Linked DNA regions of Homo sapiens: regions 2, 3, 4, 5, 6 and 7 are each linked to region 1. Evidence: promoter capture Hi-C in 16 types of primary human blood cells and fetal thymus (Javierre and others, 2016). All regions are on one chromosome and are shown on one strand. Each heading gives the region's core, a stretch centred on a gene start or on the middle of the fragment in contact. The rest is flanking DNA. Distances are from core to core; before and after follow the strand shown.

Region 1 (4,360 bases), core at 1,207-3,706:
CTGACTCTAGTTAGGCTCCTTTCCTGGAATATCATTAGAAACCAGAAGTAAGGGTTGTTTACAATTCCCATCAAGGACATTTGGTGTGATCTCAGGAAGGCTTAACAGGGATGTGATTATAGCTACCAAAAAAAAAAAAAAGCTTAAAACAAATTGTACTACACTCTGAAGAAAGAACGCATTAACCAAATGGGCTAGGTAGGGTAAAGATTTTTCTGCACTTATCCAGCACTGAATGGAGGCAAATTCACTGACTTTGGCAGCCATCAGTAAGACTGGAGGTGAGGATACCTGGATTTTTAGGAAGGGTTTTTCCTAAATAGTAGGTATTGTTATCCAATCAGGAAGTTCTGTCCTGATATAAATGCTCATCATATAAGAGTTAGTTATCAAGAGTCAGTCAACTTGCTCACCTCTAGATGTGGTAATACTGAGGTCCAGATCCTCCTGGTGATCAACACAAACTGGATTAAGAGTCAGCTACTCAGTCAGATCCTGAATCCTGGTCCAACGATAACCACACTCTTGCCTGCTACCTGCTTCAAGAAGTACACAAAAGAGGGATCACTACCACAGCCAAAGAAAGGAGGAAAGTTTTTTTTTTTTTTTTTTTTTTTTTTTTGAGATGGAGTTTCGCTCTTGTTGCCCAGGCTGGGGTGCAATGGCGTGATCTCGGCTCACTGCAACCTCTGCCTCCCAGGTTCAAGCGATTCTCCTGCCTCAGCCTCCCAGTTGCTGGGATTGCAGGCATGTGCCACCATGCCCGGCTAATTTTGTATTTTTAGTAGAGACGGGGTTTCTCCATGTTGGTCAGGCTGGTCTCGAACTCCCAACCTCAGGCAATCTGCCAGCCTTGGCCTCCCAAAGTGCTGGGGTTATAGGCATGAGCCACCGCGCCCGGCCAAAAGGCAGAAAGTTCTAAGAAGGAGAGGTCAACATTGGCAAATGCCACAAAGGGCACAAGATGGGAATTAAATTTTTCCATTAGATTTGGCAATTAAGCAATGGCTGATGTTGTTCAGTGGAGTGAAAGGCTGAGAAGGGAATGAGAGGTTAGGAAACATTCACCTTAAGGCTAGGCAACTCCTTTGAAAAGAGTCAAGTAGGGTTAAGGGAGGATCCATGCCCTCCAGGTTGACTTTTAAATCATATTCCCTTTGGTTTTGCATTTGAATCACAGTGAACTTTCTCCTCTCCAAATGTTGATTTGACAAATTTGAGTCTTACCATGGCTCTCTTCTCAGTCCACCTGCAGGTCAAGGAACTAATGAGGTGTGGAGTAACTAAAGGTCAAAAAACAAGAGGAAGAAACAAAGGGCCAAAAAACCCCAAACCTTAAATCAGGTCCTGAGTCAGATACGCTGTAACAAATTCTGCTTCAAGTTTAATATTCTTGTTTTGATGATGTTTAAAAAAAGAAAAATAAAAGCAAGTGTCTGGAAAATTAAAAGGCGGGGTGGGGGGGGGCATTTTAATTGGAATGCTTTCTTGTATCTCATCCACTATCCGCACCCCATCGCCCTGCAAATTAATAGCTGTTGCGGAGTTGGGGTATGTGTGACCACAAAATCCAAAGGCTGAATTTTGCCCAGTGCCTGAGTAATTGCATGCCACACACAAAAAAACAGTAGAATATTGAAAACAACATACACATCTGTATTTCCATATGAAAGCACCCGTTTCCTTTCTTGATTATCTGCTATTTTTAAAGGGGTTGGGAGTGCAGCGGGGCGGGGGGATGAGGCGTTTTTTCTGAATACGAGCCCAGCTCTTTCTAAACTTTTGTTACTCACGTCCGTTTGATTCATTTGCTGTGTTTTTTCTTTCTTTCTTTTTTTTTTTCCCCTCTCCTGCCTCTGTCATTGCCTGCTGCTAAGAGGGACGCTGAATCACAGCCACTGCAGATGAAAAGCAATTCAAACCCAGTCCTTGGAGGGGGGATGGAACGGCTCTTTTTGATTTTTTTCCCCTCTGCAGAAAAAGCCTCCTACTTTCCGGGTGACCGTAGAGGGCAGTTTGACAAGTCTCAGCCCCGGGCGATGGAAGATTTTGCCCGTGGGACCGTCACGAGCCACCGGTCATCTCCCCGCGCCCGGCTTTCGGGTCCTCAGGCCTCGGTGCGTCGCGGGCCAGGCGACAGCGGGGGGGCGTCGCGGGCCGGGCGAGCGTGGCCCGGTGGGCCCGAGGGTCGCGCCGAGCTCCCCGCCGCTTTAAAAGCTCCCACAATGCAGCGCTGGCGTCCCAGTTCCGTTACGAGGTCTCTCCCGGCGCCGGCGAGCGGGCCAGGCGCGGGCGGGGCGCGGAGGAGCGGCGGCTGAAACCCGAGCGCCCGGCCGAGGGGGGCGCCCCCGCGCCGCTCCTCTCGCGCGCTCAGCCGCTGCCCGGCGAAGGGGCGGAGCCGCCTGGCCGCCCGGCCCGGCCCGGCCCGGCCCGGCCCCCAGCCCGGCCCCCAGCCCAGAGGCACCGGCCGCGGGAGCGAGCGGGTCGCCGACTCCTACGCCCGCGCTCCTCCTACGCCCGCGCTCGTCCGGCGCCCCGCGCCGCGCCCCGCTCAGCGTCTGCCGCCCAGCTCCTCGCCCAGCCTCGCCGAGCCTCGCCCTTCCCGCCCGCGGCGGCGTTGGCGCTGGGGGCGGCTCCCGCGGCGTCTCTGCCGCTGGCCGAGCGCTCGCGCACCGCGGCACCCCCGCCAGTGGCGTCCACACTCACCTAGCGCGGGCCGGGAGGTGCGCGGAGAGGGAACGCCGGGGGGCCGGGGCCTCCAGCCGGTGCGGGGCGCGCGGCGCGGGGAGCGCCGGGGAGTGCCGGGGAGTGCGGCGCGGGGACGGGCGCTGGGCGGCCGCGGAGCTCCGGGTGCCGCCGCGTCCCCAGCGCCCCGGCCGGCCCCTCTGGGCGGCCTGCGGGGGCGGCGCAGTTGCGAAACTGAGTAAGTATTAACTTTACTTAGCGGCGGCGATCCGGGCTGCGCCGGGGACCCCGCCCGTCCCGCCTGCAGCCTCGGAGCTGCCCTCCGCCCGGTTGCCCCTCTCTCCGCACCTTGGGTACCTCGTCCGTTCCGCCCCCACCCTGCCCCGCCGCGGGCTCCCGCTCCCTCTGCGTTCACCTTTCCTGGTGTGTCACCCTTTGCGCCTCTCCTCGCGGCACACAAGCCGCGGACTGAAAAGTACGAGCTTGGTCTTTGCTTTTCTGCTTCCTCCCAGTGTCCTTGGCAAGGGAGTTTAGAGGCCACTTTTCTTGCAAAGGGAATTTTATGTCTGGTTTTTAAAATATTTTTTCCTCCGGATGGAAATCGGATGCTCGCTTGCCGGGTGGCGGTTTGGTGAACGCTTTTCTCCTCTAAAAAAATATTGGTTTATAGGTTTTTAAATTTCATTTGAACTATTAACCATCTGCATTCTATTCTCCTTTGCCGCCAGTCCCTTTGGGGAGGGGAGTCCAGAAGAGGGGACGTTCAAAGTAATTCTGACTTGCAAACTAGAAAGTTTGAGAGGGTAAATCGCACAAAGCCGGAAGATTCAACTTGAAGGGACGCGAGCTTTGAATGTGGGTCCTGGTGCGGCACTGGGTTTTAAAAGATGAGTACTTGGGTTCGGAATCCAGTGTTGCGTTGTTATTTTAGCATCATAGAGCCGCCTGGTGTTGCTAAACCACTACTTTCCCAGCCTCAAATGGCATCTTGAACAGTGCAACGTAGGATATATAATTGCGGGTCAATATTGTTGCTGATCTTTAGGGATTTAGAAGCGAAATGAATGCAAATCACGTCTCATAGCTGACTTAAACCTGTCAGGTTAGCCCTGTCAGGTTAGCATTAAAGCATTTCATTAAAAAAAAAAATCCTCTAGCCCTGTGACAGCAGGGACGAACATTTATGGATTTTCCAGTAGATTGTGGCTCAGCAATTCATTAGATCTGCTTTGTCCCCAGGAAGCATTTTAAAATATGTATAAATCTCTGCTTTTCTCTCCATTAGATTAACCACTCATTCTGGTAGGGGGCCCCAGGTAGTTTTTATTTTCTTTTTTGCCTTTCATCTTGGAGTTGCCAGGAGTTGCCATCATGTTATGAAGGAACAGAAAATGAGAAGCTTTCTTAATGGGTTTTCGACATCCTGTCCTTTGCCAGAGTGAGGCGGTAGTGAATGCCAGCCAGCTTTCTGCAGGGAGAGGTGCAGGGTGGACGCAAAAATCAGGACGCAGGAGACAGCACTATCATTTGGGGAAGTGGTTTGTGTGAGTTTTATCTTTTAGCGGGCATACTAATGGTACTTTTAATTTTATTTATCTCTATGAGGCACACTCCCCAAACCATAAAATTACACATGACCATCCCCCACTTGAAGAAGACTGAACATAGTTTGATG
Region 2 (4,360 bases), core at 944-3,443, 500 kb before region 1:
CAAAAGCTTATCTATATAACGAACTTGCACATATGCCCTTGAACTTAAAATAAAAGTTAAATTTAAAAAATGGTGATATTTTAATTTTGTTATTTTTAGGCATTTATGACTTGCAATTCTTTCATAAAGAACTTTACCTATTCAACTATTTGGTTTCCATGAAAAACAATTTGTACAGGAAGACTTGATTTTTCTCTTTATATTTTAGTTTTCAGCATAATAAATTGACACTCTAACATTCCTTAAAGGCGGCCAATTAGTTTTTCAGTAATTTCTTTCTTTTTTTCTTTTTTTCTTTTTTTTTTGAGACGGAGTCTTGCTCTGTCGCCCAGGCTGGAGGGCAGTGGTGCGATCTCGGCTCACTGCAAGCTCCCGGGTTCATGCCATTCTCCTGCCTCAGCCTCCCGAGTAGCTGGGACTATAGGCACCCGCCACCACGCCCGGCTAATTTTTTGTATTTTTAGTAGAGATGGGGTTTACGGTGCTAATGGTTTTCTGTTTGAAATACAGTTTTGAAAGCAGTTTCTACTCTTCTGGTTGAACTCTGACTGATTAAAAACGTTGTAGGGGAGAATTCAAGATGGCTGACTGGAAGCAGCTGATGCACACGGCTCTCACAGAGAGGAGAGTGGAGAGTAAATCCTAGCTCTTCAAGTGGATTATCCAGGAGGCCACGCTGAGATTCATCAAGGAAGCAACAGGACCCACGGAGAACAGAGAAGAGTAAAGCAGGGTCGCTGACCGCCTGGGATGGGTGTGGAGCTGGGGAGACTCCCCACCAAGGGGAAAGGGTGAGTGAGCAAGATTCCCCCGGGACCCACACTTCCCCCATGCTCCTTTGCAATCCTGGGCATGAGAGATTCCCCCTAAGCGCTCGCCCCGCCCCTGTTAACCTCCCACCCTGGGCCTCCAGACTGACACAGAGAGCTGCCTGGATTCTGGGCAGAGCCACTGCTGAAGCCCACATGGAGCCCCACAGACCTTGGATCCTTGAGCACCCTGTAGCCAGCTGCCCTACCTCCACCAAAAAAGAAGGGCAGGCTCCTTCACATGCTCCCAGGATAAGTGTTGATAAGGAGTGAGACTGCAGGCCCTGTCTCCACTGCTCCTCCCCAGCAAAGGCCCCCTGGCCTAGGCTCCCAACGCAGCCACCTCACCCCACCTGAGCACTCTGGTCCCCCATTAGGGCTCTGCATTTCTTTGCAGTGTAGCTCCCAGAGGTAACCAACAGCCCCTCTGCCACTCTGTGGTACCTTCTGTTGCCCCCAGACTAGGGAGGAGGAACATGGAGCCTGATTGCTTTCACAGGCACCTCCAGCACACCGCAGCCACCCAACAGAGAGGAGGTCAGACTGTCTTTCCTGCAAGCTCCTGCCCACTCTGCGCATTTCCAGGCAAGGCCCCTGGGCTTGGAAGTGCAGTCAGTCCTATGGCCAGGGCTCTGCATTTCTCTGTGGTGGAGCTCCCAGAGACAACTAACAGGCCCTCTGCCACTGGCTGCCATTGCAGTGCCCTCCTGCTGCTGCCCCCAGGCTGGGGAGGGAACAAAAAGCCTGAGTGCTTTGGGGAGTCTCCAGCAAGCCAGCAGCTGCCCTGCAGAGAGGCCATGACCCCACTGCACCTTCCCAACAGGGCTTGCTGCTTTCTGACTTCCAATGCACCAACATCGCCCATGTATGAACATTGCAGCCGTGAAAACCTTATCTTCACAGGCCTGTGATCTTCCCTCGAGATCCCACCACCTGACCCTATGTGAGAGTTCAGCTGGTAACTCAGGGACCAGCCTGGCCCTCCCTATCACAACCAGCAACTCAGGCTCCACCCGATCCAGCCCCATCAAGACTCATACACGCTGTCCAGCTGGCCATTTAGGGGCTGGGGAGTTGGAGAACCCCATTCCAATTCTGCTGACACCTGACCATTTCTCCCAGGGCCTGAGATTGGACCCACCCACCCAGCCAATATCACCACAACCTGCACAGGCCCAAAGGCGGAGGCCCCCTAACCCCTTTTACATGAAGATGCAGTGCTATCACATTGGAGAATGGTGAGCCACAATGCCATCTGTATTAATTAGGCTGAGTGATGAAGTTCTGCCCCAAAACCACTGCCACGGAGAGTCACAAATGAAGCAACCCCTGAGGCTCTCAACTACATTGTGGTTCAGAAAAAGGCTACAGTGTACATCTGATCTAGGAGTCATGAGCTCTGGAACAGAGATGTGATAGGGCAGCAGTTCAAATTCCTGTCTATCTAGGATGAGGTGGTGGTGTACCTTGTATGTCTGGTAGGTAGAATTCATCAGTGAATCTGTCTGGTCCCAGGCTTTTTTTTTTTTTTTTTTTTTTTTTTGGTAGGTTTTTTATTACTGATTCAATTTTAGAACTCAATTTTGGTCTGTTAAGGGTTTCAATTTCTTCCTAGTTCAATCTTGGGAGGTTGCAAGTGTCAAGAAATTTATCCATTTCCTCTAGATTTTGTAGTTTGTGTGCACAGCAAAGAGTTGGTACCAATTCTACTGAAACTCTTCCAAAAAGCTGAGGAAGAGGAACTTCTCTCTAACTTATTCTACAAAGCCATTTATCACCCTGATACTAAAATCTGGCAAAGATACAACAAAAAAGAAAACTATAGGCCAATTTTATTTATTTATTTTTTTGAGATGGAGTCTCACTTTGTTGCCCAGGCACGATCTCGGCTCACTGCAACCTCCGCCTCCCAGTTTCAAGCAATTCTCCTGTCTCAGCTTCCCGAGTAGCTGGGACTACAGGTGCCTACCACTAGCCCCAGCTAATTTTTATGTTTTTAGTAGAGACAGGGTTTCACCATATTGGTCAGGCTGGTCTCGAACTCCTGACCTCAGGTGATCTGCAGCCTCCCAAAGTGCTGGAATTACAGGCATGTGCCACCACGCCAAGCCAGGCCAATATTTTTGATGAACATAGATGCAAAAATCCTCGAAAAATACTAGCAAATTGAATTCAGCAGCATATCAAAAAGTTAATTCACTATGATCAAGTAGGCTTTATTCCTGGGATGCAAGGTTGGTTCAACATACCTAAGTCAATAAATGTGATTCACCACATAAACAGAACTAAAAACAAAAACCATATGATTATCTCAATAGATAACAGAAGAAGTTTTCAATAAAATCCAACATCCCTTCATAATAAAAACCCTCAACAAACTCAGCATATAAGGAACATACCTGAAAATAATAAAAGCCATCTATGACAAACCCACAGCCAACATCATTCTGAATAGGAAAAAGCTGGAATCATTCCCCTTAAGACCTGAAACAAGACAAGGACGCCCACTTTCACCACTCCTATTCAACATTGTTCTAGAAGTTCTAGCCAGGGCAATCAGGCAAGAGAAAGAAAGAAAAGGCATCCAAAATTAGAAAAGAAGAGGTCAAATTATCTCTTTTCACTGATGATATGATTCTATACCTAGAAAACCCTAAAGACTTCACCAAAAGCCTAAAACTGATAAATGCCATCAGTAAAGTTCAGGATACAAAATCAATGTGCAAAATCAATAGCATTTCTATACAGCAATAATGTTCAAGCTGAGTGCCAAATCAAGAACACAATCTCATTTACAGTAGCCACAAAAATAAAATAAACTACTTGGGAATACATTGAACCAAGGAGATGAAAGATTTCTACAAGGGAAATTACAAAACACTGCTGAAAGAAATCATAGATGACACAAACAAATGGAAAAACATTCCATGCTCGTGGATTAGAAGAATCAATATTGTTAAAATGGTCATATTGCCCAAAGCAATCTACAGATTCAATGCTATTCCTATCAGACTACAAATGACATTTTTCACAGAATTAGAAAAACAATTTTAAAATTCATATGAAACTAAAAAAGAGCCTAAATAGTGAAAGCAATCTTAAGCAAATGGAAGAAAGCTGGAGGTATCAGATTACTGGATTTCAAACTATACCATAAGGCTACAGTAACAAAAACAGCATGGTACTTGTACAAAAACAGACACATAGATCAATGGAACAGAATAGAGAACCCAGAAATAAAACCACACACCTACAACCATTTAATCTTTGACAATATTGACAAAACTAAACAATGAGGAAAGGACTCCTGGTTCAATAAATGATGCTGGGATAACTGGCTTAGTCATATGCAGAAGAATGAAAGTAGACCCCTACCTTTCACCATACACAAAAATTAATTCAGGATGATGAATCAACGTTTTAAATGTTAAGACCTCAAACTATAAAAATCCTGGAAGAAAACATAAGAAATGCCATTCTGGACATCTGCTTTGGCAAAGAATTTATGACTAAGACCTTAAAAGCAATCACGCTGAAAACAAAAATTGACA
Region 3 (4,360 bases), core at 1,136-3,635, 470 kb before region 1:
AATCAGACGTAGATTTGGTCTTTTCACATAGTCCCATATTTCTTGGAGGCTTTGCTCATTTCTTTTTATTCTTTTTTCTCTAAACTTCCCTTCTCGCTTCATTTCATTCATTTCATCTTCCATTGCTGATACCCTTTCTTCCAGTTGATCGCATCGGCTCCTGAGGCTTCTGCATTCTTCACGTAGTTCTCGAGCCTTGGTTTTCAGCTCCGTCAGCTCCTTTAAGCACTTCTCTGTATTGGTTATTCTAGTTATACATTCTTCTAAATTTTTTTCAAAGTTTTCAACTTCTTTGCCTTTGGTTTGAATGTCCTCCCATAGCTCAGAGTAATTTGATCGTCTGAAGCCTTCTTCTCTCAGCTCGTCAAAGTCATTCTCCATCCAGCTTTGTTCCGTTGCTGGTGAGGAACTGCGTTCCTTTGGAGGAGGAGAGGCACTCTGCGTTTTAGAGTTTCCAGTTTTTCTGTTCTGATTTTCCCCATCTTTGTGGTTTTATCTACTTTTGGTCTTTGATGATGGTGATGTACAGATGGGTTTTCGGTGTGGATGTCCTTTCTGTTTGTTTTCCTTCTAACAGACAGGATCCTCAGCTGCAGGTCTGTTGGAATACCCTGCCTTGTGAGGTGTCAGTGTGCCCCTGCTGGGGGGTGCCTCCCAGTTAGGCTGCTCGGGGGTCAGGGGTCAGGGACCCACTTGAGGAGGCAGTGTGCCCGTTCTCAGATCTCCAGCTGTGTGCTGGGAGAACCACTGCTCTCTTCAAAGCTGTCAGACAGGGACATTTAAGTCTGCAGAGGTTACTGCTGTCTTTTTGTTTGTCTGTGCCCTGCTCCCAGAGGTGGAGCCTACAGTGGCAGGCAGGCCTCCTTGAACAGTGGTGGGCTCCACCCAGTTCGAGCTTCCCGGCTGCTTTGTTTACCTAAGCAAGCCTGGGCAATGGCGGGCGCCCCTCCCCCAGACTCGCTGCTGCCTTGCAGTTTGATCTCAGACTGCTGTGCTAGCAATCAGTGAGATTCCGTGGGCGTAGGACCCTCCGAGCCAGGTGTGGGATATAGTCTGGTGGTGCGCCGTTTTTTAAGCCGGTCTGAAAAGCGCAATATTCGGGTGGGAGTGACCTGATTTTCCAGGTGCGTCCGTCACCCCTTTATTTGACTCGGAAAGGGAACTCCCTGACCCCTTGCGCTTCCCAGGTGAGGCAATGCCTCGCCCTGCTTTGGCTCGCGCACGGTGCGCGCACCCGCTGACCTGCGCCCACTGTCTGGCACTCCCTAGTGAGATGAACCTGGTACCTCAGATGGAAATGCAGAAATCACCAGTCTTCTGCGTCGCTCACGCTGGGAGCTGTAGACCGGAGCTGTTCCTATTCGGCCATCTTGGCTCCTCCCCTCTCAGTCCCCAATAGCCATTTTAAGTAGTTATGAAGAAACTCGCTTGTAATGAAATTGCAAAAGAAATGAAATTACAAAAGAAAACCTGGTGATATTATTGAAAAATAAAAAGGTGAATGACGATTCAGGATATAAGGATTGTATGTACTGATTTCAAATATTTGAAAGCACTTCCAAAATCTTTATGTTGAAAAAGCTTCCAAAATCTTTATGTTGTGGCTATAAATTTATTGGTTTCACTTGAAGTAATATATCAGAAAGATTTATTTTGATGCCAAAGAGAAACTGTAAAAACGGTACTGATAAAAATCTAAAGGAAACCAGAAAGCTTAGTTTCTTTTTAAACTATTTGACTGTAAATAAAAACCAGTTCAGCAAATATCCTTTCTAACTCTCTGCTTCTCCACCCCACAATTTGTTCGGTATCTGAAGGCTTTGGATAAGCCTGTAATGTGTAATGTATTCTTCTGTAACACTATCCCTTACTTTTCTCTAATCCCTCCTGTTTAAAAAGTTAGCAAGAAATAAGCAAGCAAACAAACCTACAGCTAGCGAAGAAACTATGGAAAATGACAGATATTCACAATGGGTTTTTTGCTAGTTGCAAAAGAACTAGCAAAACTCCACTTGGGAAGTTCAAAGAGGGTCTATTGACCATAATATTTTTTTTAACATTAAGTGAAGTTTAAACTATAATATCCTTTTTCAAGGGCCTCATTTCTAAAACACTTGGCAATTACAAATCTGAACAAGGTATATACTCTTTAGTTGCCAATGAGCAAAAGTAGTAAATCTATTATCTAGGTGGAATGGATCATTCTATAAAAGTTAGAAGTGAAGCCCTTACATTCTTACATTTAAGGTATGGAAAAAGGAAACCTCATTTTACAGAGGTGCGGAAGGGAACTATAAACATGAAAATCAGTTTTTAAGTTTTTGCAAATAGTTTAAATTCAGAACTAAAGCCTTCCCTTTATTTTTGGACAGTTATTTTGCTGCTGCTTCTGGAAATATAGGGTCATCAATGTCCTCTAATGCTGAGCCAGCAATCCTAATTGAATACAGACATTAATCAACAAGAATCTATAAAGATACTGTGAACCTAGTAATATATGGAGATTTGTGCTTCTCTAAATCTGATGTGCACACTAACCACCCAGGAAGAGAGTTAAAATGTGGATTCTAATTTGGTAGGTCTGGGTGGGTTCTAAGATCTTGGAGTTCTAACAAACTCCCACCTAATGCAATGCAACTGCTGTAAGGACTAGTCTTTGACAAACACAATTCCAGGGTTACAAAAGGCAAAGTGGCATGCCTTTATAAAAGTGAAATCAATAATTGACTGAGGCAAACCATATGGCTCTTGCCAGATAGAGATGGAGCAGCTACAGATGAGCTCTAGCTGGCTACTGGTGTTGGGGCCCAGTGCCGCCTGAGGATGAAATGATAACTAGTTAAAAGTATCTAGTTCAGTGGCTGATTACCACATAGGTGCTTGATCATTTTTTCCCCTTTTTTCTATAAAATAATTACCAAAGGAAACTTAGCATTTTATACGGAGAAAATCAAATGTTGATCAAGAGAGTGGGGCAATGGGTATAATGCAGTATGAAGCAGACATTGTATCTGAAATGTGTTTCTTTTGGAACAAGACTAACCTTATTTAACCAAAAAAGCTTGAAAGAGAAACTTTCTATAAGAGAAGTAACAGGAAAGTCTACAGAGGGGTGGTGGGGAGGAGCTAGAACTGGACTATGAAGCTAAGGAAAAGAGACGAGAAAGGAAGGTTGATGGAGCAACGTAACGTGCCTGTATGGGGAGAAAGTCCTTGAGAAATTGCTAGAGATGGGAATGCCCAAAAGACTTCAGAGACAATAAACTTTCAGTTCTAAGTTATTTGCTGGGTTATAGACCAAGTAACAAATTCTCTCTATTGCCCCAAGGCAATGTGGGCTGGACACATACAGTCTTGTGTAGAAAGTAGTTTGGTGCTGGAGGATTTGAGGTGGTGCCAGCCTGATGGTGATGTGCTGCTGGGAAAGAACAGCATGCACAGAAGGCAACACAGGGATAGACCATGGGGAATTCACCAGGAGGTCATTAGTGACCAGGGAAGCTTAACCCCTAAACAATCAACATTCCTCAGAGTTATTAGGAGAGACAATAGGTTTCCCATTGTGGGGGCAGGTTACAAGCCAATTTTTTGTTAGCCTTTTAAAAGGATAAGGTAACTTTAGCAAGCTGGAGTCCTTGGGAACATTTAGGGAGTTGATAATTTACATAAAATAAGGTGCTAATTGAGGCAGTGATTGCACAAATAAACACAGAAGGGAGAGATATACGTCCAGAAATCAACCAGAAAACTTAGCAAACATTAGAGTTTACTTTAGATTTCAAACTATGGGAAAGTAAGAGTCATTGTGGGATCTTGAACAGTAATGTGAACTAAATGGTGCAGCATTTTGGCAAAACCAGCAGGACAAGTTTAGAAGAACATATCAGTCAATCTTATGAACACATTTTTTCAAAAGTCTTAAGACTGGAATATCCATCAAGTTTTTACCTGAAAATGTTATAGCATAGGCTTAGCATAATAATTCAAGCCAACTTTTCAATTTAGGTTGATACTCTTAAAGGATGTCCTTCTTACTTCCTGAGACAGCTCCTTGCACATGTCAATTTCCCTATAGCATATTTTCATAGCGGAGATGGAACAATGTGTAATTTATTAATTAGGGATCATGAGTTGCATTGTATAGATTGATATTGGCTTAACACTGAATTTTTAGGGGAAAAAAACTTGTCACGAATATTTTATGCTTTGTTCATTCAGATAGTAGATGATAAAGGAGAGAAGAATTTTAAGAAGTCTATGCTGATAACAAAGGCAGACATTTACTCTGAAGCCAAAGCTAGATGTCATCACTGTATTTGATCAATCAATGATTTTTAGGTTTTATATCTATACATGTGAG
Region 4 (4,360 bases), core at 684-3,183, 420 kb before region 1:
CTGAGAAAAACAAGCAATGGGGAAAGGATTCCCTATTTAATAAATGGTTCTGGGAAAACTGGCTAGCCATATGTAGAAAGCTGAAACTGGATCCCTTCCTTACACCTTATACAAAAATCAATTCAAGATGGATTAAAGACTTAAATGTTAGACCTAAAACCATAAAAACCCTAGAAGAAAACCTAGGCATTACCATTCAGGACATAGACATGGGCAAGGACTTCATGTCTAAAACACCAAAAGCAATGGCAACAAAAGACAAAATTGACAAATGGGATCTAATTAAACTAAAGAGCTTCTGCACAGCAAAAGAAACTACCATCAGAGTGAACAGGCAACCTACAAAATGGGAGAAAATTTTTGCAACCTACTCATCTGACAAAGGGCTAATATCCAGAATCTACAATGAACTCAAACAAATTTACAAGAAAAAAACAAACAACCCCATCAAAAAGTGGGCGAAGGACATGAACAGACACTTCTCAAAAGAAGACATTTATGCAGCCAACAGACACACGAAAAAATGCTCACCATCACTGGCCATCAGAGACCTGCAAATCAAAACCACAATGAGATACCATCTCACACCAGTTAGAATGGCAATCATTAAAAAGTCAGGAAACAACAGGTGCTGGAGAGGATATGGAGAAATAGGAACACTTTTACACTGTTGGTGGGACTGTAAACTAGTTCAACCATTGTGGAAGTCAGTGTGGCGATTCCTCAGGGATCTAGAACTAGAAATACCATTTGACCCAGCCTCCCATTACTGGGTATATACCCAAAGGACTATAAATCATGCTGGTATAAAGACACATGCACGTGTATGTTTATTGCGGCATTATTCACAATAGCAAAGACTTGGAACCAACCCAAATGTCCAACAATGATAGACTGGATTAAGAAAGTGTGGCACATATACACCATGGAATACTATGCAGCCATAAAAAATGATGAGTTCATGTCCTTTGTAGGGACATGGATGAAATTGGAAATCATTATTCTCAGTAAACTATCGCAAGAACAAAAAACCAAACACTGCATATTCTCACTCATAGGTGGGAATTGAACAATGAGATCACATGGACACAGGAAGGGGAACATTACACTCTGGGGACTGTTGTGGGGTGGGGGGAGGGGGAAGGGAAAGCACTGGGAGATATACCTAATGCTAGATGACGAGTTAGTGGGTGCAGCACACTAGCATGGCATATGTATACATATGTAACTAACCTGCACAATGTGCACATGTACCCTAAAACTTAAAGTATAATAAAAATAAATAAATTAAATAAAAAAAGAAGAAAAAAAAAGCCCAAAGTAGACAGAAGAAAGGGAATGTAGCCCAAAATGAAAATCAATTAAATAAAAAACAAAAAATAGGGGAAACCAATATAACCAAACACATGTTCTTTGAGGAGCTCAATAAAACTAAATCTCTAGTGATATGATCAGGAAAAAGAGAAGATACAGATGACCATATGAGAAATGAGAAAGGTGATACCAATAAAGATTCTACAGTTCTTAAAAGGATAAGAGAATATTATAAATGACATTATGCAAATAATTGGACAACTTAGATAAAAATGGACACATTTCTTGAAAGACAAAAACTACCCAAGCTTATTCAAGAAGAAATAATTAGAATAGCCTAATATCTATTTAAAAACAATTTATAGTTTTAAAACTTTACCACCAAGAAATTCCAGGCCCAGATGGCTTCACCAATAAGTTCTATAAGACATTTATGAAAAAAAATTACTTCTACACAATCTCTTCTAGAAAAGGATAAAGGAGAGACTATATCCCATCTCATTCCATAAACAGTGGAATTACCGTGATACCAAAACAGACAAGGACATTACAGGGAAAGAAAACTACAGACCAATAATCTTTACAAACATTGATGCAAAAGTTTGAAGCAATATTTTAACAAATGGAATTCAAACAGTATAGTAAAACATAAACATTATGACCAAATATTTATGGTAAAAGTGAAGGGATGTTTAACATTAAAAAAGAAAAACCATATGATCATCTCACTAGATGCATAGAAAGTATTTGATACAATCCAACACCATGGAAAAAAGCCAACTTTTTGTTTGTTGATCTATATTTTTTGGTCTCAATTTCATTTATTTTTCTCTGATCTTTATTGTTTCTTTTCTTCTACTAATTTTCAGTTTGTTTTTTTTTTCTTGCTTTCCTAGTTCTCCTTGAGATACGTTGTTAGATTGTTTACTTGAAGCTTTTCTTTCTTGATATAGGTATTTATTGCCATAAACTTCCCTTTTAGTACTGCTTTTTTTTGTGTCCCAGAGATTTTGGTATGTTGTGTTTCCATTTCCATTTGTTTCAAGACATTTTTAAATTTTCTTCTCAGTTTCCTCACTGATCCATTGGTTGCTTGGAACTGTGTTTCTTAATTTCCATGTGTTTGTGTATTTTCCTAAGTTCCAAGAATTGATTTCTGGTTTTATTCCAATGTGGTCACAAAAGTACTTGACATAATTTTTACTTTTTTGATATTTGTTTTGTGGCTTAAGAGAGAGTCTATTCAGGAAAATGTTCCACGTGCTGATGAAAAGAATGTATATTCTGCAGCAATTGGGTGAAATGTTCTGCACATGTCAGGCCTCATTGGTCTAATGTGCAACTTAACTCTGATGTTTCTTCGTGATTTTTGTGTCTGGTTCATCTGTCCATTACTGAGAATAGGATGTTAAAGTGCCCTACTACTGTACTGCAGTCTATATCTCTGTTTAAATCTATTCGTTTGCTTTATATACTTGGGAGCTTTGGTGTGGGGTGTACAGATATTTATAATTATTATATCTTCTTGCTGAATTGACCCCTTTATCATTATATAGTGACCTTCTTTGTCTCTTTTTATAGTCATTGATTTGTAGTCTATTTTATCTAAGTATAGCTACTCCTACTCTTTTTTGGTTTCCAGTTGAATGGAATAGTTTTTCTATCCCTTCACTTTCAGTCTGTATGCCTTTGTAGGTGAAGTGGGTTTCTTCTAGGCAGCATATAGCTGGATTTTGTTTCCTTATCCCTAAGCCACTCTATGCCTTTAAATTGAGTATTGAGTCCATTTACATTAAGTATTATTATTGAAAAGAAGAATTTATTTCTTGTTTTTGGGTTGTTTTATAATTTGTCTCTTCCTTTTGTCCTTTATTACTATATTCTTTTGTGGTTAAGTAATTTTCTTTGGTAGTATATTTTAATTCATTGCTTTTTATTTTTTGTGAATCTATTATAGGTTTTTGCATTGTGGTTACATGAGGCTTACAAAAAACATCTTACAGCTATAACAAGTTACTTTAAAGAGATGAATACTTACCTTGAATCACAAAGGAAAGAATAGAAAAAAAGAAAGAATAGAAACAAAGAAAAAATCTCTAGACTGGAACTCCATCCTTCCATATTTTGACTGTTAGTTTTCTCAATTTACGTATTTTTATACTGCCTATCTCTTAGCAGACTGCTATAGCTATTACTGTTTTTGATAGATTTGTCTTTTGGGATTCACGCTAGAGTAATGAGTGGATTGTATACCACAATTACAATTCTGGGTTTTTCCATGTACTTAATTTTACCAGAGGTTTTATACTTTCAGGTGTTTTCTTTTTGAACATTAGTGTTTTTTTGTTTCAGATTGAAGAACTCTCCTTAGCATTTCTTATAAGATAGGTCTCGTGGTGGTGAATTCTCTTAGCTTTTGTTTGGGAAAGATTTTATCTCCTCATATTTGAAAGATAGCTTGGCTGGATACACTATTCTTGGATAGCAGGGTTTTAACACATTAAAAACATTGTCTCATTACCTCCTGACCTACATGGTTTCCACTGAGAAGTCTGTTGCTAGACAAATTCTTTTCTCTCACAGTTTTTAGCTTCTTCTCTTTGTCCTTGACCTCTGGGGAGCTTAATTATTATACGAGTGTTTCTCACTTCTCTGTGGCCTCAGGAATTGTCTCATCCTCATATTTGAGTTCTGAGATACTGCTGATGATAATGATAATCTTGGCACTGTATATTTGTTTTTGTTTTCTGGGGTGGCTGGATAGGGATTGAAGACATCTTGCTTCTACACCACCATTTTTAATAGGATTGCATTTTAACAGAAGCTTTGAACATTTTATTTTGTTCCAAACTGCTCATCATTTTAACATAGTAGGTACTGAATGAAGGATCTGATGAGGTGTTTTTAGACAGTAGAGAAAAATGCTTAGGTATTCTCCACTGTTAAATTGTAATAGGGCATGGGTGATTGATTTTAGGAAACATGGCATAAAGGGAGAGAAAATTTCCTTCATATCTGACCCTCAACTCTGATTTCTTTTAGCCAT
Region 5 (4,360 bases), core at 716-3,215, 380 kb before region 1:
ACTAAATTGCTCAAGCCAAGAGCTTTGGACTCATTCTTGATTCCTCCTTTCCCTCTCTCAGTATACTCAACCAACCACTACATATTATCAAATGCCTCTTGCATCCATCCCCTTCTCTTTTCAACAATACCGGTATAGACTCCAATCGCATCTCTCCAGAACTACCCAGCGAGCCTCTGAGCAGTTTTCCCCTGCCAGTGCATTCTCTATTGTACCCCACAAATTATCTCAAGCATAGATGTAATTATTTGGGTTCTCTGATACCCAGAGAAGAAAGTAAAAACTTATTAGATTTGCTAAGGCCCTTCATGATTGGGCCTAAGACAAATTTCATTATCATGTGCAACTACTCTCTGCAAGCCCTGTGATCTAACCACAGTAGGCTACTAGACACTTCCCTATGCCACCCAGGCTTTGTTCAGTTTAGTTGTGTCCTCTGCCTAGAATGCCATGTCCTCTTTTGTCCAATGGAAAACTCCCACTTATCTGTTAAGGTTCAGATCATGCATCATCTCTATTTTGTAGTTTTTCATGACCCCCTCTGGCCCCTCCTTCCATCCACCTTTCCATTGATGTTTTCATGTATCTCTATTTCAGTATTGATTCCATTGTTAAGGCAAAACTGATACGCAATCATTTGCACTGTGGCCATCCATACCAGCTGTATATAGTCAGTCTCCATTCTGATTGGTGGGTACTTGTTCAGCACAAGTATTAAATATTATGAATAACACTCCCAGTTGCTGGCATTATTTCAAATCTATCTTTACCATGATGCTACGAGATTAAGGGCAAGGGCTGTGCTTTATTCATCCTATTTCCAGGGACTGGCATAATATCCTCATATAGTTGTACCCTTATATGTTTGATAAAATGAACAAAATATAGACAGTCTTTATAGTAATTCTTTCTAAAACAGAATTACTTTTATCTAAATAATTGTGAAATTTGCCTGATCTATACCAAAATTATCATCAACCTGTTTAACGATCAAAGCTACACTATGGATTTGGTAAGTTCAGAGGTCAGATATAGTAACCTCTAGTTTGGGTAATTTCATGACTTTTCCTTCTTTGAACCTGGGTGGGAAAATCCTGGACTTTGAAATCAGACAAACCGGAAATTGAATTGAGAGCAATCTCTTAAACCTATGAGACTTTGGTAAGCTGTTTAACCTCTCTGAGATCTATTTCTTCCTTTTCAAAATGGGGAAATGGATACCTCCCTTACCGGGTTGTTAAGAGAACAAGTAAGACCATGTATTTAAGGACATGGCATATAATCCCCCATGAACAGTAAGCTTTAGCCTACTTGGAACTAATTTAAGTTAGTAGAGAAGATTTCTATTCTGAACAGCAATCTCTCCAATCAAAAGAGAGGAGGAAAAGGCAGATAAGGCTTATATTTCCTGGAAGCATCCTGTAGCAGCGTACATAAGACATCACAATGGACTGCATGCCTATTATTATGAGCCAGTGCTGACTGTGCTGCTGAGAAATGGTCATATGGCCAGAGTTATATACTAGGGATAAGCTAAAGGCCCCGCGCAGTGCTTTATTTGTCAAACAGAACTACTGTTGTTTTATCTCCAAAGCATCTGCGTTTAAAACATCTGGATTCATTTTCAATGGAGGCATCTCTTTTGCTGATAAAATGTGAGGAGCAACAAGGTAATGTAGTTGGCAGGTCAGCTGTCAAGATGGGTAATGTTATCATAGTTATGTTGTTTCTCTGACTCTTTGAACCTATTAGGATTAGGAAAGGCGATTCTAAGACAAGAAATTGAGCACCTCTAAATCACAGAATTTAATAATGAAGCCATTATTTTTCAAATATATTACTCTTTTGATTAAACTTTATCATCATAGGTATCAAATTCTGACATAAAAACTGACAAAAATAATTGATATTATAAAGAGTTAAATCTAGTTTAGAAAATATACAGTTGTGTGTTGCTTAATGATGGGTATATGTTCTAGTTCTGAGAGATGCATCATTAGGTGATTTTGGTTGTGCAAACATCACAAAGTGTACTTATGCAAACCTAGATGGTATGGCCTACTACACACCTAGGTTATATGGGATAGCCTATTGCCCCTAGGCTACAAACCTGTATAGCATGTTACTGTACTGAATACTGCAGGCAATTGTAACACAATCTAAGTATTTGTGTATCTAAACATAGAAAGACTACAGTAAAAATGCAATAAAATGTTATGAGACCACTGTCATATTTGAAGTCCATCATTGATCGAAAGATCTTTATGCAGGACTTGGCTGTATTTACTTTTATTTACACCTGACTTCCTTTATTCCTCGACTTTTATCTCATCCTCATCCATGTGAAGGGGCAAAAGCCTGGTATCATGGGTCCCACAGCCAACAGGTCTGAAATGTTTCTTCACTGAGGGAGAGGAAGATTATATGGTAGCTCCATATGGATTTTCAGGATCTAACTAGGATGCCAGAGTGACCAAAAGAAGAATTACAGGCAAGATCTTGCTGTGGTTTCTTCCCTTCACTTCCAAGTACTGTCTGCTTCACATTTTCTACAGCCACAAATAACCCTGTCTATGTATCTGTGTCAACAGAGGACGGTCATGACAGGGAATATTATGCAAAGCTCACTTCCAAGCTTATCATCCTATGATGTAATAATTAAATTAAATCAGCTGTTATTTTTCATACCTGTTAATCGGTAAATTGCATACAAATTTATAACTCACTTTAGATAAGTCTGTCTCCAAATGGTGATCTTGCTCAGAAGCCTATAAAGAATCAAACAAAACACTTAGATCATGAGAAAAGTGGAATATTCAATAGGAGACCTCAAAGTGCGGAAACATTAAAACTTCATGGGCTCCGAATAAATTTTTGGAAGTTGCAGATGGCTTCTCATGAAACCATACATCTGGAAAAAACTTTTTAAAATATGACAACCTAAATTTGATATTTAAATAAGACTGTGTCAATACTCTATAAGCAGAGTTATGTGAGAAATCATCTGTATTTGATTTTCATAATCATTTTTATAGTATCTGCTAATTATAGAATTTTAGAGTTAGGAGATAGTTTGCAATGCTAACTACGAAATGCACACCAAACCTATACCTGAAAACTTTTGTCACCTAATATATAATAAGTTATTTAAGCAGTTTATTTATTTATTTGAGAGTAGGTCTCACTCTGTTGTCCAGGCTGGAGTGCAGTAGCACGATCATGGCTCACTGCAACCTTGACCTCCAGGGCTCAAATGATCCTCCTGCCTCAGCCTTCTGAGTAGCTGAGACTACAGGTTCGTGACACCATGCCTGGATAATTTTTTTTTTTTTTTTTGAGACGGAGTCTCGATCTTTCGCCCAGGCTGGAGTGCAGTGGTGCTATCTCGGTATCTTGGCTCACTGCAAGCTCTACCTCCCGGGTTCACACCATTCTCCTACCTCAGCCTCCCGAGTAGCTGGGACTACAGGTGCCCGCCACTGCGCCTGGCTAATTTTTTTTTTTTGTATTTTTAGTAGAGACGGGGTTTCACCGTGTTAGCCAGGATGGTCTCCATCTCCTGACCTCGTGATCCACCCGCCTCGGCCTCCCAAAGTGTTGGGATTACAGGCGTGAGCCACCGTGCCCGGCCGGTAATGTTTTTAAAAAATTTTAGTAGAGCCGAGGTCTCACTATGTTGCCCAGGCTGGTCTTGAACTGCTGAGCTCAAGCAATCCTCATTCCTTCTGCCTCCCATAGTGCTGGGATTACCAGGCAACCACACCTGGCCAAAAATATCTTTAGACAATATAGGAACACAGATTTTATTTTTACCCTTTTTAATCCCCTTGCTCCTATTTGAGATATCATATCTCATTCTTAAATGTGCCTTGGATTTCCCCGTATCTTTTTGAATCTCAGTGATTCAATTCTAATATTTTGTCCTTGTAATCTTGTACCTGGGTTAATGCACCAGCCTCCGCTGGTAGAGGGAGCCACAAGTGCAGAGATCTGAGATAGGACCTGGCAAAGAGCCTAGTAAGGCTGGGAGAGGGAGCAGAGAGTGATGGGGATGGGCTTAGACAGTGATAAGAAATGAGTGAGAGGCGAAGGAGAGGCCAGAGCCTCAGGGTCTTATCAGTACAGGGGGAGGACTTTGGCTTTCCTCTGAGAGAGAAGGAAAATCACAAGCCAGGGAACCTTGAGCCAATGAGTGTCATGATCTGGCTTGTGTCTTTAAAGGACTACTTTGGCTTCTGTGTTGAAATTAAGAGAATAAGAAGCAGAGAGACCAGAGAAGATGAGACTGCTTCCATCATCCAGGGAGAGCCTATGGCACCAACCTCCAGAATGGTGGCAATGGAGGTGATGAGATGTGTTC
Region 6 (4,360 bases), core at 611-3,110, 350 kb before region 1:
AGGAAGTCTCAAGGCTCAGCTAGCTTCAGAAGAAGGTGTTGGGTTTGGTTTGGGCATAAGAAATTTGAGAGGACAGCAGAGGCTCAGACTGAAGGAAAATTGGGAAGCCACTTGTCTTCAACAGTCACAACTGTGGGGGTGAGAGATTCTCAAGTAACGTCTTTAAGGAGAGCAGAGACCCCTTGAGTAACACCTATTTCTAGGCGCACAGAGGAGTCAAAGAAGCAGAGAAGGAAAGTGAAGAGAACGAAGAGAACCAGTATAAAGCAGGGCAGGACGTCAAGGGAAGGACAAAGTTTTAACCTCAAATACCAGGGAAGTCAAAGAGGACAAAAATTGTAGCAAAGCTATGCCATTTGGTGATTAAGAAGAAATGTTATTAAAGGGCAATTTTAATGGCGTACTGGAGACAGAAATCATATGTTTAGGTGTTATGATATGATTAGATCATGAGGGCAAGGAGACCACGAAGATAAATAATTTTTAAAAACATTACTAATCAGTGCAAGAAGAGGATTAACAGGATCAAAGGAAGCCTTTGGTGTTTTGATGGTTTTAGGAGGGGTTGTTTTGTTTAGAATGGGAACATTTAAGCACAGGCTGTGAGGAATACAGTGATGAGGAGGGACTAGGATGAAGGAAGTTTGTCCACACTGGAATCCTCGACTATGTAGCTGAGTTCAGATGGTTAAGTTTAATCCCACTCATCATTTTACTCAGGTATAATGGTTTAGCTCCAGTGTTCCACTATTCCATTTGAGAACATTTACAGTATATTGCCTTAAAGAACAAAAACATAATGAGAATGCTTCCAAAATATGATTGAGAAGTAAAGGATTGACTCCCTTTCTCTTTCTCATACACATACGTACACACACACAGTCATAGCCATGAGTACTGCTAAAATATTTATTTGATTTTATTTTTCCAGTCAAGTGGTCTTGGAAAATGAGCCTGATCCCATTTCCTTAGAGAGCAATAGCAATGCATTCAAAAGTTAGATTAGAATGGACCTCATTTTATGCCAGTCTGATTTAAATGGTTCTTTATACACTTGGATTTCCTTTGCTTGCCAGTTCTGATCCATAACATTTCCTCTTTGGTTGCTTTCTCTTTATTCTGTGTGGTGGAATTTAAGAGTAAACTTCTATCCGTTGGAGTATTTTCTTCATGGAACAGCAAAAAATTTCCATCCAGGGATAGAGTGCTTATTAAGCTTGTTTTACCATCTTAGCCTTTAACATAATTGTACCTATTCAAAGGTTTTTGTGTGTGTTCAGTGAAGTAGAGGGCTTTTCACTGCCAACTAAAGAAATAAGAAAAATACTGTGGCTTTAGATGGAGAGATAGCAAAATTAAATTTTTTTAGATTAACTCAAATGCTTCTTGTTAAAACAAATGAATGAACAATCTGGAAAAAAGTATATCATTTCCTACAATTAACCAGTTCTATCTGAGTCTCTAAGGTCCCTCACACACACACACACACACACACACACACACACACACACGCGCTCCCACTGTCAACAACACTGAACCACTACTCACAGCCTGGATGGAATTCACTGTGGATTTTACACTTTTAGGCTTTGGACCATCTCTGTCCCTTTTTCTAGACTTCTTTCTTTTGATATCTGCCTAACAAACTCCTACTGCTATTCAAGGCTTAGGTCAAGCAATTTTACATCTAGGAAACCTTTGCTGAGTCACTCAGGTAATGTAAACTCGCATCAGATCTTATTTTTATCTTCACCACTGTTATCTGCTTGTTGTATGCCCAGTATCTAGCATGGTGCCTGAATCCCTTTGGCTGAATGAATGAAGCTCTGATGAACTGATCTAAATGCAGGGAAACAGAAAAAGGAGTCTAGAGCTGGAATGACTTTATATATATATATATTTTTAAATGTCCCCCGTGTATAGAGTTTAAAGGCTACCATATGTGATAGGTTGAATAATGGCCCCAAAGACATCTAGGTCTTAATTTCTGGAACCTGTGAAAGTTACCTTATATGGCAAAAGTGACTTTCAGATGTGAATAGATTAAGGATCTTGAGGTAAGGTGATCTCCTGCATTATCTGAGTGGGTCCTGTGATGTAGTCTCAAGTGTTCTTATAGGCAGACAGAGGGAGATCTGCTAGAAGAGGAAGAAGGCAATGGGATGATGGCAGCAGCAGGAGAAAGAGCAATGTCATGAGCCATGGAACGAGGACAGATTCCAGAATATAGGAGAATGCAGTGAAAGGGATTGTCCCCTGGAAGCTCTGGAGGAAGTGCAGCCCTGAAGACACCTTGATTTCAACCCAGTGAGACACTTGTTTTGGACTTCTGACATCCAAAACCTTTAAGAGAATAAATGTCTGTTGTTTTAAGGCATGAAGTTGGTGGTAATTTGTTATAGTAGCAACAGAAAGTCAATGCACCACACAGATCCTGTTCTTCTTCTAGACTTTAAAGCACTCTTATTGCTGGTTCTGACATGACGGGTAGAAATGAAATCAAGATAAGCTTAGGAACCAAAAGACCTGTGTGTGTTTTGACTCTACCGTTTTTTAGCTAGATCTTTTAGTGGGAATCACTGGGCCTTGGTTTCCTGAGGTTAAAACAATACCTGATCAATCTACTTCTTGCAGTTGTTATGAGCATTATATGGCATAAATTACACAAAAGCATTATGTAAACTGCAACAAAAATGTTAACTCTATGATCATGACTTACTTCTTTGGACCTAGGAATTGAAGGCTTCTGGCAAAATGTAAATGAGCCTCATTTGATAATTAACATTGTAGTGCAGTGCTCTGAATAGTGTCTGGCACATAAAACCTTATGCATATTTGTTAAGGGAATTAAGAGATGATTGAATGCATGCATAAATTAAATTAGCTTATTAGAAAAAATATTTAATATCAATAGAATCTTGCTGTCAACAGGTCATAGGAAAAGTAAACATTGGAAAGAGAGAAAGTATTTGGAAATACTTTCACTTTTTTCACAGAACCCCACCTATGAAAGAGATGGATGATGTGGGAGGAGGGTGTGGAGTCTAAAGGGGCTCCTTTAGAAATGGGATTCAAGCAGATTCCTAAATACAGCTGGCAGCTGAGGGGCAACTAAGGGAGAAGATAGGCGGAAGCATTGGGAGAGGAGACAGAAGGACAAAGGGAAAAGCAGAGAGGAGTATCATGGACAAAGGAAGAGAGTGGTTTCCAAAATGAAGGAGAATGATTATTAATGTCAATTGCTGCTGGTGGGTAAAAAAAAAAAGTATCTAAAAAAAGTGTCCATTGGGTTTATCAAGACAAGTCATCAGTCGCCAGTGGGAGTAGGGAGACTGACTGAAGGGTGGGGTAAGCGATGTCCTCTTTTTTTTCTGTCTATTCCTTGTTAAGCTTCCTACGCATTTTTCTAGTTCTCTTCTGGCCTCATCAGTTGCTTCTTCTGCTTCATTTCCAACTTCTCTTACTCTTGCCTCCACCAGCCCTGGAGATTTCTATAGCTCAGTTCTCGGTACTGAGCACAGACACATTCCCTTGATGAGCTCCCTACAACCCAAATCCTCAATTACCAGGTATCTGGGTGACACCTTAAATGCTGACCTCCAGCTCAGCACATCTGGAGAAGCTGCTTCTCCAGACATCTTGCAGAGTAGTCATCCATGAACTGAGTTCAAGATTAGAGTTTAATCTACCCTCCAAGATACTATCACATGCAATAGACTTTGTGCCTATTCCTTTTGGGGTGTTTTCCTCCTAAAGTTAGTTTTCAGAAACCCAAAAGAGAACAGTATTTCTCTTCTGTTAACAGAGGTTAACTGCGGTAGAACAGACTTGGCAGATTGCAGAGTCTAGCACCTTGGGAGACAGAATCAGACTTGAAAGTGTGCTTGGCAAATAGGGAAAGTGGCTATATTAGTTTGCTAAGGCTGCCACAACAAAGTATCACAGACTGGGTGACCTAAACAACAGAAATTTATTTTCTCATACTTCTGGAAACTGGAAGTCCAAGACCAAGGTATTGTTAGGTTTGGTTTGTTTCTTCTGAGGCTCTTCTTGGCTTAAAGATGGCCATCTTCTCCCTGTTTTCACACTGTCTTCCCTCTGTTGATGTCTGGGTTCTAATCGCCTCTTCTTATAAGGTCATTAGTCATATTGGATTAAGGCCCAATCTAATGACATCATTTTTAATTAATTACCTTTGTTGAGACCCTATCTGCATCACCGTCACAATCTGAGGTACTGGGGGAAAGGACGTCAACCGATAAATACAGGGGGGCACAATCCAGCCTGTAATAGTGGCCAAACAAAATGAGGCTCAGCTAAAAGGGAGAAATTTAGGTAGCAGAACAAGCTTCTTGCTCAC
Region 7 (4,360 bases), core at 1,344-3,843, 320 kb before region 1:
TAAAAAAATAGATAAATTTGACTTCATCAAAATTGAAAACTTTTTTGCTACAAGGAATACCATCAAGAAAGTGAAGAGACAACTCACAGAATTAAAGAAAATATTTCCAAAGCTGATAAAAATCACGTGTCCAGAATACATAAAGAACCCTTCCAACTCAACAATAAAAAGACAAACAATGCAATTTAAAAATGGGTAAAGAAGTTGAATAGACATTTTTTCAAAAAAGATATACGAATAACCAACAAGCACACGAAAAGATCATTAATCATTAGGGGAATGGAAATCAAAACCACAATAAGATCCTGTTCTCAAACACTAGCCTGGGTATAATTTTAAAAGACAGAAAATAGCAAGTCTTGTTTAGTATGTGAACAAATGGGAAGCTTTGTACATTGTTTGTGGGAATGTAAAATGGTGTCGCTGCTTTGGGAAACAGTTTGACATTCTGAAAGTGTTAAACATATAGTTACCTTATGACTCGGCAATTCCACACCTAGATCTATACACAATAAATATAAAAACACATATCCACACAAAAGCTATATGTGAACATGCATAGTAGCATTTGTCACAATAGCCAAAAAATGGAAACAACCCAATGTCCATAAATTGATGAATGAATAAACAAAATGTGGCATATCCATCCAATGGGATATTATTCAGCAATAAAGAAATGAACTACTGATACATACTACCACATGGATGAACCTTGAAAACATGCTAAGTGAAAGAAGACAGACATAAAAGACCACAATTATATGATTCCATTTATATGAAAAGTCCAAATTAGGCAAATCTACAGAGACAGAAAAGAGATTAGTAATTGCCTCAAGCTAGGTGACTTGGGGGGAGAGGAGTGGGAAGTGACTGCTAACGAGTGTGAAGTTTCTTTTAGAGGTGATAGAAAATAGAATAGGTAATTAAGATTGGGTGCAGTGGCTCTCACACCCATAATCCCAGCACTTTGGGAGGCCAAGGCGGGCAGATTGCTTGAGTCCAGGAGTTCGAGACCAGCCTGGGCAATGTGGCAAAACCCTGTCTCTACAAAAAATACAAAAATTAGCCGGGCATGGCATGTCTATAGGCCTAACCTACTCAAGAGACTGAGGTTGGAGGATCACTTGAGCCCAGGAGGTGGAGGTTGCAGTGAGCTGAGATTGCACCACTGCACTCCAGCCTGAGTAACAGAGTGAGACTGTCTCAAAAAAAAAAAAAAATCTAAAATTATATTGTGGTGATCACATAACTATGTGTATATATTAAGAATCATTAATTACATTAAATAATGTTATTTAAAAATTTATTAGTTATCCATGACATTACAATTGTAATAAAATATCAGCTTATTGAAGAAAAGAGGTTTTTTGTTTTTTTTTTGAGACGGAGTCTCGCTCTGTCGCCCAGGCCCTGGAGTATAGTGGCGCAAACTCAGCTCACTACAAGCTCCACCTCCCGGGTTCACGCCATTCTCCTGCCTAAGCCTCCCGAGTAGCTGGGACTACAGGTGCCCACCACCATGCCTGGCTAACTTTTTTTTTGTATTTTTTAGCAGAGACGGGGTTTCACTGTGTTAGCCAGGATGGTCTCGATCTCCTGACCTCGTGATCCACCTGCCTCGGCCTCCCAAAGTGTTGGGATTACAGGCGTAAGCCACCGTGCCCAGCCAGAAAAGTGTTTTTAATTTGAAGTATATTTAGTTTTCTTTTCTGTTCATTTACTCATACTACAAACATTTACAGGACATCAAAAAGTGCTTGGTACTAGCAATACTCAGATGAAAAATAATTTCTGCAACTAATACTGTGTTTGGCATGTAGTATGTACTCAACCAGTATGTTTTGGATGGATGGATGGATGACTATAGAATAGATCTGATAAGTGCAAGAAGGTAATAGTATTCTGTTTTTATTAATGTTCATAAGGCTGTACTAATGTAGCAAAATTTGAATTTTACCAAGACTAGGTAATATTGATGTCTTGATTTCCTTTCCTTTATAAGGTGCATGTATAAACCAGCAGTTTGGCTGAAAAAAATGAACAGCAATAAGAAAATTATTGGCTGATACAGTAAGCTACATGCCATGGAAAGGTTCTGAGGTTTATTGTCAGGAAAAAAATAATGGGTTCAAATATTGTCTGTGGCACTTACTATCAATGTGACCTGAGGTAAGTATTTAAGCCTTTGTTCAGTTAAAGGGGAATAACATAACATCTTTCCTACTTGGTAAGATTATTAATAATGTGTATTTAGAAACCAGCATAATGGTCAATAAATGGAAGTTATGATTATTAAGCTTAACTTCAAATAGATATACTTTTTATAAAAGTAATATAATAACTGCTTGTACTATTATTTATCCACAAGGGTAAACATTTAAAGTGTATATTTCATATGTCACATCAAACTTTGTAGTAAATAATAAAAGAAACATTATGAAACTCTGCAGTTCCACAGAATATAATATAAGAGATGCACAATTTGGAAATTAAACAACTGCTGAAAACCTGGTCTTATCCATTTAGGCTTCTCTGCTTTCCCATCCTAATTTTTTTTCACTCTTGAATAATAAATATATCATTATTATTTGTACTATTACTTACAACCATAGTAGGACTTTTCACTTTTTAAAAAGTAGCTTGAAATTATTTATACTAAACCAAATTTGCGAATTTCAGTCAGAAATTCTAAAACTCAATTCAGCAACCCAAGAGTTTTCCTTACTGTACAGTCTCCTCATTAACCCAACCATACTCCATCCAAATCTTTAAAAAACATTTCCCCAAAGTTAGTGGAATGAATTTTATGATTTAGATGCCATTTACAAAATAATATATGTTAAAGGGTCCAGGTAAGGAACTATATTTTTGTTTTGGGCCTTGAGAGAAGGAAGCTTATGAACTGAATGTTTGTGATCCTTCCCCCAAAATTCATCTGTTGAAGCTCTAATCACCACTGTGAGGGTATCTGAAGGTGGAACCTTCGGAGGGTAATTAGGTTTAAATAAGGTCATGAGGGTTGAGCCCCCATAATGTGATTAAATATATCTTTATAAGGGGGTGAGAAAACTGGGGCTCTCTCTCTGTTGTGTGAGGATCTCATGAGAAGACAGACAGCCATCTATGAACCAGAAGGAGGGCCCTCACTAAGAACCCAACCATGCTGCACTCCGATCTTGGACTTCCCAGCTTCCAGAACTGTAAGAAAGAAATGTTTGTCGTTTAATCCTTCTGGCCTGTGATGTTCTATTAAAGTAATCCAAATGGACTACAACACTCCATCTGTCTTTGGTCATCTCTGCTTTAGTACTGAAGGTGCCAAAAATTAACATTAGCTTTATTCTCCAAATATAACTTTCTTCCTTTCAAAAAATATTTAAACTTGTTCAATCTTTTAAAATCTTTTAATCTCTTTTAATCTTCTTTCTCCTCATCTCAGAAAAGAAAAGCATGGAGAGCCTGTTTCTTAAGGACATTATTTGAGTCAGAGCTACCTTAGCTGATGCTCAGTGGATTAACTTCACTCTGGTGCCACAGCCCCAACCTGAGCTCAGTACAGCCAATTGGAATTTTATATATGTCCCACAAGTCAGATTTCTCAGGACTGTATTTTCAAATCTTCTATTTAGTCATGCCACGTCTATGATATATTTTCGATATTAGAGGTCAGTATGCATTCAACAATTCAGTTAATGCAACGTTCCAAGCACTGTTCTAGGCTCTGAAAATATAGCACAAGATCATAGCCTTGAAGAAGGATTAATAGTCCTTTAAGAATAAGCTTCTCTAAGATCTTATGATCCTTGAGTGAGACAGAAAAAAACATATAACATGGTAATTTTAGATTGTAATAAGAGTCATACAGCAAGTCATGACAGAAATATAAATAAAACTTACATTATCATTTATGATTATAGTGGGATGAGCAGGGGAAGCCTTTCTAAACAGATGACAGTTGAGTTGAATCCTGCATGACAAGAAGGAGCAAGACATGCAAAGAACTTTAAGAAAGGTATTCAGGGGAAGCATCCAGCAAGGCCAGAGACCCCGACACCTGGTGGGTTTGAAAAATAGAGAGGAGGCCAGTGTGCTGAGTAAGCAAAGAAAGAATGACATGAGATGAAAAAGGTTAACAAGGGCCGGATGATAGAGGGCTTTATAGACAATAGAATATAGGATAAACAAGGAAGAGACTTACATATTCCTTTTTAATAGCAAGGAAAATATCCCAGGAAGTTCTGTAGCAGATTTTCCTTTCAACTCATTAGCCAGAATTGTGCCACATGTGCATTCCAATTTTTAAACCGATTGCTGACAACAGGAATTGAGCTGCCATGATGGGGCCATGACTAATCGAGTG

Evidence for each region. The method cuts DNA at HindIII sites, captures the fragments that hold promoters and counts their contacts. A CHiCAGO score of 5 or more calls a contact.
Region 2: a fragment that was not itself captured here is called in contact with the fragment with the promoter of RASSF8 in region 1 in 9 of 17 cell types (endothelial precursors, M2 macrophages, M1 macrophages and 6 more); the score reaches 9.1 in endothelial precursors.
Region 3: a contact is called between a fragment that was not itself captured here and the fragment with the promoter of RASSF8 in region 1, in 1 of 17 cell types (megakaryocytes). The highest score is 5.1, in megakaryocytes.
Region 4: a contact is called between a fragment that was not itself captured here and the fragment with the promoter of RASSF8 in region 1, in 1 of 17 cell types (endothelial precursors). The highest score is 5.1, in endothelial precursors.
Region 5: a contact is called between a fragment that was not itself captured here and the fragment with the promoter of RASSF8 in region 1, in 1 of 17 cell types (endothelial precursors). The highest score is 7.3, in endothelial precursors.
Region 6: a fragment that was not itself captured here is called in contact with the fragment with the promoter of RASSF8 in region 1 in 2 of 17 cell types (endothelial precursors and megakaryocytes); the score reaches 7.0 in endothelial precursors.
Region 7: a contact is called between a fragment that was not itself captured here and the fragment with the promoter of RASSF8 in region 1, in 2 of 17 cell types (endothelial precursors and megakaryocytes). The highest score is 8.1, in endothelial precursors.

Annotation. Positions count from the first base shown.
Region 1 is chr12:25,956,226-25,960,585 of GRCh38, forward strand. It overlaps RASSF8 (Ras association domain family member 8), which reads left to right and starts at 2,457. Exons shown (of 6, transcript NM_001394098.1): 1 at 2,457-2,923. RASSF8-AS1 (RASSF8 antisense RNA 1) reads right to left here and starts at 3,217. Exons shown (of 4, transcript NR_038228.1): 1 at 3,101-3,217; 2 at 414-539; 3 at 2-122. RefSeq lists silencers at 2,069-2,558, 2,659-2,758, 2,829-2,878, 3,019-3,068. The HindIII fragment of the contact is 3,942 bases long and covers 141-4,082 here.
Region 2 is chr12:25,451,627-25,455,986 of GRCh38, forward strand. No RefSeq gene overlaps it. Among named protein-coding and RNA genes, the nearest start is that of LMNTD1, 99 kb to the right of the region's middle. The HindIII fragment of the contact is 4,379 bases long and covers 5-4,360 here.
Region 3 is chr12:25,488,271-25,492,630 of GRCh38, forward strand. The region is part of intron 9 of LMNTD1 (lamin tail domain containing 1); the gene reads right to left. Among named protein-coding and RNA genes, the nearest start is that of LMNTD1, 63 kb to the right of the region's middle. The HindIII fragment of the contact is 1,348 bases long and covers 1,712-3,059 here.
Region 4 is chr12:25,541,448-25,545,807 of GRCh38, forward strand. The region is part of intron 4 of LMNTD1 (lamin tail domain containing 1); the gene reads right to left. Among named protein-coding and RNA genes, the nearest start is that of LMNTD1, 9.7 kb to the right of the region's middle. The HindIII fragment of the contact is 626 bases long and covers 1,621-2,246 here.
Region 5 is chr12:25,579,696-25,584,055 of GRCh38, forward strand. It overlaps a transcript of LMNTD1 not described here. Among named protein-coding and RNA genes, the nearest start is that of LMNTD1, 29 kb to the left of the region's middle. The HindIII fragment of the contact is 1,335 bases long and covers 1,299-2,633 here.
Region 6 is chr12:25,610,819-25,615,178 of GRCh38, forward strand. It overlaps a transcript of LMNTD1 not described here. Among named protein-coding and RNA genes, the nearest start is that of LMNTD1, 60 kb to the left of the region's middle. The HindIII fragment of the contact is 1,293 bases long and covers 1,215-2,507 here.
Region 7 is chr12:25,639,299-25,643,658 of GRCh38, forward strand. It overlaps a transcript of LMNTD1 not described here. Among named protein-coding and RNA genes, the nearest start is that of LMNTD1, 88 kb to the left of the region's middle. The HindIII fragment of the contact is 597 bases long and covers 2,296-2,892 here.